Linked DNA regions of Homo sapiens: region 2 is linked to region 1. Evidence: promoter capture Hi-C in human tissues and cell types (Jung and others, 2019). All regions are on one chromosome and are shown on one strand. Each heading gives the region's core, a stretch centred on a gene start or on the middle of the fragment in contact. The rest is flanking DNA. Distances are from core to core; before and after follow the strand shown. Region 1 holds the start of TMEM70 (transmembrane protein 70). Region 2 overlaps PI15 (peptidase inhibitor 15).

Region 1 (3,236 bases), core at 488-2,987:
GCTTGAGCCTCAGGAGTTTGAGACCAACCTGGGCTATATGGTGAAACTCCATCTCTACTATTAAAACAAATATTAAAATAAAAATAAACAAAATGTAAGTAGAAGCTAACTTTTTATAAAATAAAGTTATCCATATAGAGGTATTATCATTATCTCCTTCTGAATACTCCCCCCAATAGACAGTATTTGGAGTTGCCAACATGATCATATTCTATTGATTTATTTTTATTTTTATTTTTGAGACAGGGTCTAGCTGTGTCACTCAGTGCAGTGGTGCAATCAGGGCTCACTGCAGCCTCAACCTCTTGGGCTCAAGTGATCCTTCCACCTCAGCCTCCCAAGTAGCTGGGACTACAGGCAGGTGCCACCATGCCCAGCTAATTTAAAAATTTTTTGTAGAGACAGGGTCTCACTTTGTTGCCCAGGCTGGTCTCAAACTCCTGGAATCAAGTGATCCTCTCACCTGGGCCTCCACGTAGTATTGGAATTGCAGGCGTGAGCTCCCGCCCCTGGCCACACATTATTTTAGACTATGAATTTGTTCCTCTCCGGTGCAAATAACATGTCAAATCAAAAACATGTATAGTTCTGCAGTGGTAAACAAAAGTGTGTTTCTATTACTAAGATGCTCATCCTTCAAGACTGAGCTAAATGTGAAGCCAGTCTGAAGACATTCTGAGGCAAAATTAATCATGTTCTTCTTTGTACTTCTGTGGCATTTGTTTGTTCTTTTTTTTGAGACACGGTGTCACTTTGTGGTCCAGGCTGGAGTGCAGTAGTGTGGTCTTGGCTCACTGAAGCCTCGACTTTGGGCTCAAGCAATCCTACCATGTCAGCCTCCTGGGTAGCTGGGACCACAGGCACACACTTACCATGTGTGGCTTATTTTTGTTTTAGGTTTTTTTTTTTTTTTTTTTTTTGTAGAGACGGGGTCTCCCTGTATTGCTCAGGCTGGTCTCAAACTCCTGGCCTCAAGAGATCTTCCTGCCTAAACCTCCCAAAGCGCTGGGATTACAGGTGTAAGCCACCACGGCCAGCCACATTTTGTATATTGCGGTGTCTCAATTGTATTACATTATATTCTAGCCAATTTTCAGGTATTTTCCTCCACTGTTTAAGCACTGTGGATTCCCAGTTTAATCTAGTATTTTGTATCCTCTGCTCCTAGCTCAGTCCTGGCAATAGATTCAGTACCTCTTTAACAAGTAATGAATCAATGTGTATATGGATGTGAATGATTTCCGAAGACAAATCTGGTAACACCTATCAATATTACATGAACAATTCCATTTATTTTCCTCCAACCCGATGATTCAATTAAGTTATCACTCATTTTTGTTCAAATCGTATATTCTTTCTTCTGTGCCAACAGGCTAGAATCATTTTCCGCAAAGGAAACAGTTTTTAGTGATGTCGTCCACGAGAAAAAAAAATATTTAACCCTGGCTTCTGGGCATTGTCATTCTCGTACAGCCCTCTGCCCCTCCACACTGTTATAAAGAAGGTAAAATTCTAGGAAGGAGGAGCCGCTGAGCCAAGGACAGAGCGGCGGGCTCCCAGCTCAGCTGGCGGATAACGCGCGCGGCCGGGAAGGCGGCAGGCGGGCGGCAGGCGGGCGGCAGGCGGGCGGCAGGCGGGCGGCAGGCGGGCGGCAGGCGGGCGGCAGGCGGGCGGCAGATTCTGCGCACGCGCAGGCAGCCCAGCTGCCAGTCAGGCGTCCCGGGCTGGGCATGCGCCACTTGTGCGGCAGTCGGGTGGGAAGCCGTGTCTCGCAGTCGTGGACTCGTGCAGCTGGGGCGTCCGCAGCCGCTCGTCACCCGCGTGATGCTGTTTCTGGCGTTGGGCAGCCCGTGGGCGGTCGAACTGCCTCTCTGCGGAAGGAGGACTGCATTGTGTGCGGCCGCCGCGCTCCGAGGTCCCCGGGCCTCTGTCTCCCGGGCGTCCTCCAGCAGCGGGCCTTCGGGGCCGGTAGCCGGCTGGAGTACGGGGCCTTCGGGAGCCGCGCGCCTTCTCCGGCGTCCGGGTCGAGCGCAGGTAGGGCGTCCGAGGTCTGGTGTCCCAAGTGAGGCGGGGAGGGCGGGCGTCGTGTCGGGCCTGGGGAGCCCCAGCGGCTCTTCGCGACCTCTCCCAGGTGTCCGTGGCTGGAGCGCGGGAGGAGCCCCCTCTGCGGGGCTTGCAGAAGTAGCAGGCCGAGGGCCCCGGGGTCCTCAGCCTCCGCGAGTCCAGGAGAACGGCTGGAAAGTGCTTACTTTTATGGTAGTTCCAAATCCAGAGGGTTTGTGGTGACAACTATATGTAGTTCCTTTTCTGCCCTTGAGTAGAAGCTTAGAAGTGTTAATTTGCAAAAAATTGGATGCAGCACCTGGAAATAGAACCGAAAGAGCCAGGTTAACCTGACTTTGAGCTTGTTCTACTTTTATGAGGTGGCTGTACTTTTAAGAATTACTTTGGTCCCTGGGAAAAGGGGGATGCAGATGTTAATTCTTTTATTTTGATCTGAATAAATTGTCTTCTAATTCTACTCTGTAAAATATCAGGATTGGCAAACCTGGTTAAAACTTGGAAGAAATGCTTAAAATGGAAATTGGAATCTAATTACATTTCAGCATTGAGGAATTAGGCATGCCTTTTACATTTTGAAGTGTATACACTGTGAAACTCATTTTCAGATGTATGGGGAACGCTTCTGTTCCCTTGAAATTTGATGTAGGATTTCAAGTAAATTTTATTTCTTTTTTTTTGGAGGTGAAGTCTCGCTCTGTCACCCTGGTTGGAGTGCAGTGACGTGATCTTGGCTCACTGCAACCTCCGCCTTCCGGGTTCAAGCGATTCTCCTGCCTCAGCCTCCCCAGTAGTTGGGATTACAGGCGCGCTCCACCACACCCCGGCTGATTTTTTTTTTGTATTTTTAGTAGAGACGGGGTTTCACCGTGTTGGCCAGGCTCGTCTTAAACTCCTGACCTCAAATCATCCTCCTGCCTCGGCCTGTCAAAGGGTTGGGATTACAGGCGTGAGCCGCTGTGCCCAGCCAAATTTTATTTCTTGTCAAGAAATAAGAGGACCAGGGGATACACGGTATTTACAAGGTCTTTAGAGAAAGATTTGATCTCTTTAATACTATCATATAAATATTTTAGCAGTATTTGTAAAAGGCCTGGACTTTAAATATAATGTGAGTTTGCGGAGTATTTTACTTAAATTATTTTAGTAAAATTAAATTTTATTTCTTAGAGATG
Region 2 (3,090 bases), core at 571-3,070, 870 kb after region 1:
ATAACTTTCAGTGACTTTCTAAAGCAACTTCTCAAACGGATCATCACATGTCAATACTTGTGAACATATGGCTTAAGGACAATCTACTTTTAAAAAATGGGTGGGTTGCACTAATGCTATCTTTTTTGTTTTCCCTTCTAGGGGCAATTGGATTGGAGAAGCACCATATAAAGTAGGGGTACCATGTTCATCTTGTCCTCCAAGTTATGGGGGATCTTGTACTGACAATCTGTGTTTTCCAGGAGTTACGTCAAACTACCTGTACTGGTTTAAATAAGTTTACCTTTTCCTCCAGGAAATATAATGATTTCTGGGAACATGGGCATGTATATATATATATGGAGAGAGAATTTTGCACATATTATACATATTTTGTGCTAATCTTGTTTTCCTCTTAGTATTCCTTTGTATAAATTAGTGTTTGTCTAGCATGTTTGTTTAATCCTTTGAAATATTTGAAACATCAATTTCTATTTTCTGACCTCTAAGCCTAAATTAAGATATTGTATATGTAATGATGACATAGTTGATGCATCCAATCCTAAAACTTACATTCCAAAGGAATTATATCATTATGTTCCTAAGGAGTAAATATATATTTGACCTGTAAGTGTGTGTATGTATACATATACATATGTATGTGTATGGATTTATATATGCACACAAACATATAATATGTGATGTAACATGTAGATGATAATATGATTCAGTAGTCAACTTGAGGGAAATTTTTAAAAAACTATTCTCAATTATATACGAGGTGATGGGACTTCTTAACACACATTTCTATAATACCCATGAAATGATAATTTGTAAAATAACACTTAGTGATATCTGGAAATAATAATTCAATTAAGCAACCACGAATTTCACCCTGGAGATATTTTTTCTTATTTGAGTCCACCAAAGGATAATGCCAACTTATATAAGTTCTCAAATCATGCCTTCCGCTTAGTCTCATTTTATTCATTCAGTCGTCATGAGTTGAGTGCTTACTACATGCAAGGCACTCTGCTAGTTATATTCTAATAATGCAGAGATAATTAGACATGGTTCCCGCCCTCAAGAAGCTCACAAAAGTATTCAGGAAATAATGCAGACTAGTGATTTTGCTATAAAATTATTTTTGAAGGAAGCAGACACAGCAGTATTTACCTGTAGGTGGAGCAAGTAATAAGCCATGCTGTGCAATATATACATAAAGCTTCTGCTTCTCATGGGAATTTAGTTACAGTGCTTGGAATGAGAAGGGGAAGGAAAGAATTAACAAATGCCAAGATTTCTGGAGCAGATTGTACAGCTGTGACTTTGGAAAACAGAAAGTAAGACCCTCAGAAAACCAATGAAGTCTAAGAGAAATAAAATTTAGTGGACAGGTATGAAAAGTGTAATTGCGCCTAACTACCAGATGGAGAGCTTCAGAATGGGCTATCCTTAGAGTCTAGTACATCTTGAGGCCTCTCAGCAGGAGACAAAGGATTCCAAAAAGAGATGTGGAGGTGCTGAGGGCACCTCTATCTCTTTGTTGTTTAGTCTGTCATTGAATCAATCTACTTATCATCTTGGGTCTTTGAGTATTGTATGAAAGATCCTTCGTGCACACCACACACAGTCATGATTTTGTTAAAGTAGCCTTCTTCAGATGCTTTTCTAAGGGCTAGTTACCAACTTTATTTCTGTGTTTCTGTAGAAGAAACATTTTCAGTTCTTCATTGAGTTTGATTATGGAAATCCATTCAAAGTCACTATGAAAATTTTACTCATGTAGTTTGGAAATGCAACATTTTCCTATCATGAAATCTCTTTCAGAGAGGAGAATACAACATCTTAGTCCAGACATTTAACATACTGCATTTCAAGTACATGTGTGTGTGTTTTATTCAGGTTGTGTAATGCTCCCGTAGAATTATAGAACAATTAAATATGGTTAGTTCCAGAGTGCAAATTACAGAAGGAAGCTACTTGTTTAAAATTCCATACACGTTTGCAGTTTCTTGTACACATTTGGATACTTTGAAAGATGACAGATTGTTAAATCCATTCAATGGTAAAGAAACTCACCATCTGGAGATTGAGTCTACTTGTTAATGAATGACTAGCCCAATTATCCTTATAAATTGAATATGGTGACCAAATGCTTTGATATCATACTACTCTGCCTTTGTGGGCACATATGTAGACACTACTAAAAATAAATATTTTTGGAGATTAAAATGGAGAATAGAAGTAATTACATTATTTAGGTCTTAATCCAACTTTTTTCTAATATATCTAAACAATTGAAAGGGAAGCTTATTCATGGAATATTGGCTTGATTTATCTAGAAAGTTTTTCCTTCTTCAATTTTACTATATTCATTCTACAGGAACAGCAATAAGTACTATTAAACAGAAGATGGCTACACTAAGTTCCAATTTTGTTGCTGAATTGCTTCTGTGAGTTCACTTTTCAGTTCTAAGGAAGAATAATATTTGCTACATATTTCACAGGGGTTCTTATGAAGGTAAATTTACCAGATTAATAAAAATTTATGAATATTAAAATTATCATTAATAATATAAAACACTTATTTGAGATTAAATTAAATTTTTCATGAGCCCCTCTTTGGCAGGAACTCTGTTTAATTCTTTGTATTTATCCCAGCTTCTTAAATGGTGGCTGTAACATAATAAATGTTTAATAAATGCTTATATGAATGGATTTTTAGAATTAACTAAGAAGCCAAAAATGGCAACAATTTACAGAAATCCCACCTTTCCATGCTTAAGACAAAAATGTCTTAAATATAAAGCTGTGATTATATCAAAAATCCAGATAAATCATCAAATATATCAGATTAAGACCAGGGTTTACACACTTAGGCAATAGTCCTTTCCAAACCATGACAAAAACTACAAGTTTATTTATAATTTAACAACTCAGCTGAAAATATAACGGGTATATTTGTTATTCTAACTCTATTTTTTAAAGTTAATAATATAAAGTGGCCATGTAAAATATTTTATTTTCCAGGCTAAAGCAAATGAAAGTTTGCTGGTATCAACACAGCCTGCCATATTTTTCACAGCATGCAACAATGGTGCTAGGATA

What was found. The method cuts DNA at HindIII sites, captures the fragments that hold promoters and counts their contacts. A contact is called where the count stands out against the background at its distance.
Region 2: a fragment that was not itself captured here is called in contact with the fragment with the promoter of TMEM70 in region 1 in 1 of the 25 tissues and cell types used here (dorsolateral prefrontal cortex).

The regions. Positions count from the first base shown.
Region 1 is chr8:73,974,458-73,977,693 of GRCh38, forward strand. It overlaps TMEM70 (transmembrane protein 70), which reads left to right and starts at 1,738. Exons shown (of 3, transcript NM_017866.6): 1 at 1,738-2,034. The coding sequence starts at 1,825. RefSeq lists silencers at 1,527-1,606, 1,656-1,871, 2,037-2,086. The HindIII fragment of the contact is 11,340 bases long and covers 1-3,236 here.
Region 2 is chr8:74,848,977-74,852,066 of GRCh38, forward strand. It overlaps PI15 (peptidase inhibitor 15), which reads left to right. Exons shown (of 6, transcript NM_015886.5): 6 at 142-3,090. The coding sequence ends at 277. Among named protein-coding and RNA genes, the nearest start is that of PI15, 26 kb to the left of the region's middle. The HindIII fragment of the contact is 3,820 bases long and covers 1-3,090 here.